Regions from separate parts of the Homo sapiens genome. Here region 2 is linked to region 1. The links are contacts of gene promoters, found by promoter capture Hi-C in human tissues and cell types (Jung and others, 2019). All regions are on one chromosome and are shown on one strand. Each heading gives the region's core, a stretch centred on a gene start or on the middle of the fragment in contact. The rest is flanking DNA. Distances are from core to core; before and after follow the strand shown.

Evidence for each region. Contacts are between HindIII fragments. The study calls those that stand out against the background at their distance.
Region 2: a contact is called between a fragment that was not itself captured here and the fragment with the promoter of FAM149A in region 1, in 1 of the 25 tissues and cell types used here (mesendoderm cells).

What each region holds. Positions count from the first base shown.
Region 1 is chr4:186,103,454-186,107,821 of GRCh38, forward strand. It overlaps FAM149A (family with sequence similarity 149 member A), which reads left to right and starts at 1,251. Exons shown (of 14, transcript NM_001395294.1): 1 at 1,251-2,189. The coding sequence starts at 1,624. LOC124900171 (a long non-coding RNA gene) reads left to right here and starts at 4,241. Exons shown (of 2, transcript XR_007058421.1): 1 at 4,241-4,282. RefSeq lists a silencer at 1,171-1,230. The HindIII fragment of the contact is 14,554 bases long and covers 1-4,368 here.
Region 2 is chr4:186,057,706-186,062,073 of GRCh38, forward strand. No RefSeq gene overlaps it. Among named protein-coding and RNA genes, the nearest start is that of TLR3, 9.3 kb to the right of the region's middle. The HindIII fragment of the contact is 3,511 bases long and covers 590-4,100 here.

The DNA of each region.
Region 1 (4,368 bases), core at 1-2,500:
TGCTTAATGCAATCTTGAAGCAGACAAGTGCCCAGTACATGTTGGTGGCAGTTAGATGTAGAAAAGGGATCATGACAGAAGACTTGTTAACTGCCTCCAAATAACGCAAAACTTAGCATTACCTGGAAGTTTACCGTGGCTCAGACTCCAGTTTGATAACTTACAAAAGATTCAAGTATATAAGCATGAATGTCAGTTTATTCACTGCCAGACTTAATTCATCTCTTTTCCCTACCCCACATCAGGAAATGTATCTCCTGAGATCCTCTCCTGAATATTAATGGACAAACTCCATCAATATCTCATTACTATTTTTTTGACACAGGGTCTCACTCTACTGCCCAGGCTGGAATGCAGTGGTGCGATCACGGCTCACTCCAGGCCCAAGCGATCACCTCAGCCTCCCGAGTACCTGGGACTACAGGCATGCGCCACCAGGCCCGGCATTTTTTTTTTTTTTAAATATTTGTAGAGATGGGGTCTCCCTATGTTGTTGCCCAGGCTGGCCTGGAACTCCTGGGCTCAAGCCATCCTCCCACCTCCCAATCCCGGTGCTGGGATTACAGGTATGAGCCACCGAGCCTGGCTGCAGTATCTTATTTTTTAACTCTGTTCAACACTGACCCCACACCCCTTTAGATGCTCGCACCTATACGCTCTACCTTTCACACATATTTTTCAGATTAAGCAAAATACAATTTATTCCACTGAATAGAAAACGTTGCCTTCCATATCTGTCTTTGAATTTGTAGTCGTTCCGATTATAATTTGAGTTCTCAAACATTTGAATTACACAGTCTCTTGGTTCACTCCGACAGGTGTTTAAACAGGTGTGCGTAGGTCTTTCTACTTCAGCTCTCAGAGCCGGTCTTGTTTGCAGGTTAGTGGGTGGCGCACCTCGCGGTTGCTCCCACCCCACCCTTAGTAACAGGGTTTGAGTAGGACCCTGGGGTGGGGGAGTGGATGCTGCTGTTTCAAGCTCGTTCGCCCAAATACATCTTTCTACCCACCTTCCCTATCGTCAGAGAGGTGGCCTGACCCCAGCACGTGCAAGCTTGTCAGGCTGGGTAAGTTCCAGAACCTTCTGGAGCCAGGATTCTCTTTCCCAGCCCTGGGCCCTGAGCTCGGCGGATGGGATCTGCGAGGCTCGGGGCGCAGGGGAAATGGGGGCGTGTTCCTTTAAGGCGGAACCAGGCGGGGAGTGGGACGTCCCCCGCGGGCACAGCCCGAGCCGCACCTGGGGCCCAATTAGCCTGGAGCGCGGCCGGGTGTGTTGAACGTAGCAACCGCGGGCGGCGGGCGGCGGGCGGCGGGCGTCTGGGGCGGGCGGCGGCCGCGCTTCCCGGGGCTCCTGGCCCTTCGGCCCTCGGGGGTCTCACGGCGCTGGGACGAGGCGGGGCTGCTCTCCGCAGCCGGGGCGCTCGGCGGACGGACCCGGGCCGGGGAAGGGCGACCCCAGCGGCGCGGAGCTGAGCGTCCTCGGGGAGGAGAGGGAGCCAGGGGCCTCCGGGGCTCCGGGTGCGGGGACCTCAGGCTCCTCGCCCCGGCCCGGGCCGCCTCGGCCGGATCTCCGCGGTCTGAACTCTCGGGCGGCGGCGAGGACGGCGTGTCCACTGTCGAGGCATGAAGGCTGCTGTGCTGGACCTTGGGTCTCTCTTGGCCAAACTCTTCGAGACCTCGACGGCGCCCCCCGCAGGCCCCTCCTCCAGACCCTCGGGAGGTGCTGCCGCTGCAGGGTCGGGGGGCTCCAGGGCGGGCACCCCGTTGGGTACCGCCCCGACCCTCCTCCGCGCCCTGGCTCCGGACTCCCCCTCCGCCTCGCGGCGGTCGCCCGCCCCGCTGCTCTCCTCCCCCTACTCCCGGGGCTCCGCCGCCAGCCGCGCCGCGGGAGCAGTGGGGACCCTGCTCTCTTGGCCCAGTAGCCCTAGAGCGGGTAAAGCCCCGCCCCAGCCCCCCACTCCCTCCGGCGGGGGCTGCTCCCCTGCTCGCCTGGTGGTCCCAGCGCGGCCGCCCTCGGGCCCCGGCGGGGTCTGGGCCGCGCTCCCCAGGAACCCGCTCCAGCCTGGCCCCGGAGAGCGAGAGCTCGGCGCCTGCGTGGCCCCCGGGGCTGGCCCCAGAACCCTGTTCCTTACGCTGCCTGACATCGGCGAGGAGGGGGCCTCGGACGGCGACTCCGGGGATGGCGAAGCGTGAGTAGCAGCGTGGTCCGGGCGCGTGTACCTTTTGCCGGGACCCCCGACCCCTCCGCCTGCCGCACTCACCTTCGCAGGTGCACTTCAGGAAATGAAATATTTGTAGTAACTTTCATAACCCCCTGGGCACCCTCCTTGCACGTTTCCTGGGTTTTTACTCCTTGGCTTTGCGGGCTTTCAGACATAAGCTGTGACATGCTTTGTCCAGCTTTCTCAGAGTGAATCCTAAGGGGCCTTGAAGGAAGGGACAGAATTTTGTTTCTCTTCTACCAGAAGCATTGCTACTTAGAGTGTTTGTTTGGTTTTCTTAAGGACTTTTTGAAGTCCCTTTCTTTGTCTCAGAATATAGCAGGTGTGCAGGGAAACCGAATACACACGTCTGCAGCAAGTGTTTTAAGAAGTGGTGAGACCTGGTGCTTTCCTAATGTCTAAGGACCAGTCCCTAGTCTTATCCTAAGTGGGATGGGTCTCCTTTGTGTGACATCTAGTTAATTTACATATGCATGACATCATCTGACACAAATGGAGTTGTAATGGCCAGGACACGTCTGATTATTACCCTAGAGCTCCTGAGAGCTTTCCACAGTGCCCTGAGTCACTGCAGAAACGTTGACTTCATGGGAACATTTTCACTGGGAATCGGAGGCCGATTCCCTCAACACACACACACCCACACAACACCCCTTTCACTTCCAAGAGTCGTGATAAAAACATTGCTCTTTTAAAATGTGTTTTAGAACTAGGATGAATTTTAATTTTTAGAGTGGAGCATATCGTTAGCTATTCTTGAGTGGGTAAATTTTCATCCTGAATGCTGCAAAGAAATAGTGAAATGGTCAAAGACAGATGAGCCAATTCACAGACTGAGGTTTCTGCATTGTAATCTAGTGAGGCCATTCCCTACTCCCTCCAAAAAATCCTGAGTAATTTTTGCATTCATACTGATCCTGACTCACTCACAATTTAAATAATTACAGTTTCACAAAATTGAATGATATTCATGTCAATATGAAAACAAGCGGCCGGGCACGGTGGCTCACGCCTGTAATCCCAGCACTTTGGGAGGCCGAGGCGGGCGGATCATGAGGTCAGGAGATCGAGACCATCCTGGCTAACACGATGAAACCCCGTCTCTACTAAAAATACAAAAAATTAGCCGGGCGTGGTGGTACGTGCCTGTAGTCCCAGCTACTCGGAAGGCTGAGGCAAGAGGATGATGGCGTGAACCCGGGAGGCGGAGCTTGCAGTGAGCCAAGATCGCACCATTGCGCTCCAACCTGGGCGACAGAGAGAGAGACTCCGTCTCAAAAAAACAACAACAAAAAAGAAAATAAGCAGTTAAGCAAAAAGTTGTTCCCACTCATTAAAAAATACTATATTATGACATATGTTTATCAACTGATAGTTTTCCCTATCAGTTAATTGCTTTTGGAAAACTCACTGGAATACATATGCCTGAGGAATTAGATCTTTGTTATTGGCAACTGGTCCTTAACATTTATGCAATTAATGTTTTATGAGCAAACAGATCTACACACTGACCTTAAACTCTAGTCTTAGTGCTTTTAACAAATAGGCACTGAAATATGCAGCATGGCCAGTGAAACTGGTGTTAGTTTCAATTCTTGAACATATTAGCTCATGTTTATATTGTGCAAATATTTGGAATAGATACTTTTTGAATAACACTGCATTTGGCATTATTTACATAAGAGATTATTCTGAATTAACAAATGCATTCAATTTTATGGACAGTGAAGAAATTGAATTTTTAAATTATTATTACTTTTTGAGATGAGGTCTCCTTCTGTCACCCAGGTTGGAGTGCAGTGGTATGATCACTGTTCATTGCAGCCTCAACCTCCCAGGCTCAAGCGATCTGATTCTCCCGTCTCAGACTCTCGAGTAGCTGGGACTACAGGTGTGAGCTACTATGCCTGGCCAATTTTAAAAATGTTTCTGTGGAGACGGGGTCTCCCTATGTTGCCCAGGCTGGTCTTGAACTCCTGGCCTCAAGCAATCTTCCCACCTGGGCATTGCTGGGATTACAGGCATGAGCCACTGCATCTGGCCATGAAATTGAATTTTAGGTAAGTGCCATGAGAAGTAATATACACAGCTAGGTGCTTTGCAGAATCCTCCTGAGTTTGTGTGTTCCTACTGTCTGCAGCAGCAG
Region 2 (4,368 bases), core at 1,095-3,594, 45 kb before region 1:
AGCCATCCACCCCCAGCCATCCACCTCCCGCCATCCACCCCCAGCCATCCACCCCCAGCCATCCACCTCCCGCCATCCACCCCCAGCCATCCACCTCCCGCCATCCACCTCCCGCCATCCACCTCCCGCCATCCACCCCCAGCCATCCACCTCCCGCCACCCACCTCCCGCCACCCACCTCCCGCCATCCACCTCCAGCCACCCACCTCCCGCCATCCACCTCCAGCCACCCACCTCCCGCCACCCACCTCCCACCACCCACCTCCCGCCATCCACCTCCCGCTATCCACCTTCAGTCATCCACCTTCAGTCATCCACCCCCAACCACCCACCTCCAGCTATCCACCTCCCGCCATCCACCTCCAGCCATCCACCTTCAGTCATTCACCTTCAGTCATCCACCTCCAGCCACCCACCTCCAGCCATCCACACCCAGATATCCACCTCCCGCCATCCACCTCCAGCTATCCACCTCCCACCATCCACCACAACCTCCTGCCCTGCGTGTTTGACCGTGACCACCACAGCTACTCCTTTCCTTTGGTTACAAATGCCATTAGTCTTTACTTGTCTCTTACTAAGTGATTAATTCATATTTTCCCCCAACATAACTGCTAGACCTGCCATCTTGACCCAAGAAATACACCAAGGTGTTACGGTCATAAAAATATAACTCATACTTTGAACATATGTTACAACTCCACCAAGATATTGTTAGAGACCCTGGGGATTTCAGGTCTGCGTTCTTGACAATTATGAATAGGGAACTTGGTTATGAGCCAGCCTTCAGGGGCTCTATATACTTTTCCCTGTTTTTCTCTTTTTGACTCTCATAATAAGTTGTTTTCTATGCTGTCTAAGACAACTTATGCCCTACTCTCTGGAAATCTCTATTATTTGGGCTACTCAAGTACCTCCCCCAACACACCCACCAAAAAAAAACTAGGCTTAAAACTGAGATCAAGGCATCAAGGAGTCAACTGTAATACAGCTTTTTAAAAATCTGTCCTGACCCAGTTGTGAGAAGCTGGTCAGAGGCTGGTCAGCTCCCCTCATCGAGGAGGTGATTAAGTCCACAACTGAACCACTTCCCTTACAGGGCTCTCACGCTGCAGGCCACTACACAGCCACCCGAATCACCTTAGGGCCAGTTACCATAGCACAAGGGACAGCCCCTATCCCCCAGAGCCCTCTGAAAGTATTCAAATAGCCAACCCACAGGAAACCCACAGAATCTAGCCAGCTCCACCCAGCTTGCCATACGCACACTGCTTCCCACATCTCCAGGTTGCCGTTAACCCGGCCTAGGCTCAATCCCCTGCGTGGCCCTGCCTGGCAGCCTTCTCTATTTGGAACTGTAAGTAACAAATAATTCTGCTTTTCACCTATCTGGGAGTCATTGTTTTTTGCCCTGTCATCAAAACAATCTTTAAATCATATAAAAGAGTTGAGTATTTGTATCATAAAAGGGTTTTTAACAGGAGCAAATGCTTTTTCTGCATCATATGAGATGATCATGTGTTTTTGTTTTTATTTATTATTATTATTATTGGTAGCATTTTTTTTGAGGCAGAGTCTTGCTCTGTTGCCCAGGCTGGAGTGCAGTGGCACGATCTCAGCTCACTGCAACCTCCACCTCCCGGGTTCAAGCAATTCTCCTGCCTCAGCCTCCCAAGTAGCTGGGACTACAGGCACCCACCAACACACCAGGCTAATTTTTGTATTTTTAGTAGAAACGGGGTTTCACCATGTTGGCCAGGCTGGTCTCAAACACCTGACCTCAGGTGATCCACCCGAGTTGGCCTCTCAAAATGCTGGGATTACAGGCGTGAGCCACCGTGCTGGGCCGATCATGTGGCTTTCTTTCTCATTCTGTCAATGTGGAATATTACCTCGATTAATCTTTGTTTGTTGAACCATCAAGGCATTCCGGGAATAAATCCCACTTGGTCATGATGTATAGTCTGTTAAATATGTTGCTAGCATTTTGTTAAAGATATTTATATCGGTATTTATAAGGGATACTGGCCTATAATTTTCTTTTCTTGTGGTGACTTTGGCTTTGGTAGTAGGGTGATGCTGGCCTCATCAAATAAGTTAGAAGTGTTCCTTTGTCTCCCATTTTTTGGAAAGGTTTGACAAAGGTTGGTGCTAATTTTTCAAACGTGTGGTAGAATTCATCAGTAAGCCATCTAGTTCAGAGATCTTGTTGTTGGAATGCTTTGGTTACTGATTCAAACTCCTTACTAGTTATAGGTCTATTCAGATTTTCTATGGCTTCATGTTTCGGTCTTGGTAGGTTGTGTGTTTCTAAGGATTTGGCCATTTCACTGACATTATCCAATTTGTTGGCATATGGTTCTTCACAGTACTCTTATAATACATTTTTAAAAAATAGAATCCGTTTTAATGCCTCTTTTTCCTTTCTGGTTAGAATTATTCTGGTTAGAATTATCTGGTTAGCTATATTATCAGCAGTTTCTTTGTGGTTATCGTGGGAATTGCATGCAACATTTTAAAGGCATACCAATTTAATTTGAATTGATACCAATTTAACTTTAATTGCACACAAGTGGACTTATAAATATCTCCACCTCCTGTGACTTTATGCTATTTATGTCCAGAGTACGTCTTTATACAACATGTACTCAACTAACATAGATTTATAATTATTTTTATGCATTTATCTTTTAAATTCTCCAGAAAAGAAAAAAGTGAAGTTACAAACCAAAATTATAATAAAACGTTTCTTTTTTAACCATGTGCCTAAGCTTACTGAAGATCTTTATGTCTTTATATGGCTTTGAATTACCATCTAGAATGATTTTATTTTAATCTAAAGGATCCCTAGTCTTTAGCATGTCTTGTAGGGCAGATCTAGTGATAATGAACTCCCTCCACTTTTCCTTATCTGGGAATGTCTTAATTTCTCCTTCATTTTTGAAAGACAGTTTTGCCAGATATAGAATTCATGATTGACAGATTTTTTTTTTTCTTTCAGCACTTTAAATATATCACCTCACTGCATTCTGGCCTCAAAGGTTTTTACTAACAAATCCACCAATAATTTTACTGAGGATCTTTTGTATGTTGTGAGTAACTTCTCTCTTGCCGCTTTCAAGATTATGTGTGTCTTAGACTTTTATTTTGATTATAATGTGTCTCAGTGTGAGTCTCTTTAGGTTCATCTTACCTAAAGTTCATTGGGCTTCTTGGATTTTTAGACTCGTGTATTTCATCACATCTGTGAAATTTGGGACCATACTTCTTCACACCACCTCCTTGCCCCGTTCTGTGTCTCTTCTTTTTCTGAAACTCCCCTAATGCCTATAGTGGCCTGCTTGCCAGTGTTTCATAAGGCCATGAGACTCTATTCCCTTTTGTTTATTCTTTTTTTTCTTTCCTGTTTTGCTCCTCAGACTCAATAATTTTAATTGTCTTGCCTTTAAATTTACTGATTCTTTCTTCTGCTTTCTGAAATCTGCAGTTGAAATCCCTCTAGTAAATTTTTCAATTCAGTTGTATTTTTCAGCTGCATAATATATATATATATATAAAAATATATATATATATATAATTTCAACTTCTCTGCTGACTTTTTTTTTTTTTTGAGACAGAGTTTTGCTCTGTCACCCAGGCTGGAGTGTAGCGGTGCGATCTCGGCTCGCTGCAACCTCTGCCTCCCAGGTTCAAGTGATTCTCCCACCTCAGCCTCCCAAGTAGCTGGGATTACAGGTGCGTGCCACTATGCCCAGCTAATTTTTGTATTTTTAGTAGAGACAGGGTTTCACCATTTTGGCCAGGCTGGTATCAAAGTCCTGACCTCAAGTGATCAGCCCACCTCGGCCTCCCAAAGTGCTGGGATTATAGGCATGGGCCACTGCTGTGGTCTCTGCTGACATTCTTATTTTGTCCGTTCATTGTAGTCCTCATTTTCTTTGGTTCTTTGTGTTTTTCTTTAGGTCTTTGAGCATATTCAAGACAGCTATTTTAAAGTCTTTGTCTAGTAGGTCCAATATACATGCTTTCTAGGGATATTATCTGGAGATTTACATTTTCCTTTGATTGGACCATGTTTTACTGCTTCTTTGTGTACCCTATGATTTTTTGTTGGCACTTAAATACTTGAATAAACAGCCACCTCTCTCAGCTTTTGCAGAGAGGCAAAAAGAGATAACCAGAAGCTGAGCTGCTGCCTCCTCTAGAACATGACCATGCTGAGCCAAGGACGGAGTGGGGCAGGGGTAACGAAAAATGCCATACAATTTCCTACATTTTTAAGGTGAATTTTTTATTAGGTATTTACGTGGTTGTTGTAGACCTTTGTTTTCCAGAGCTACTCTAAGATTTGTTCAGCAATTTTCTGGT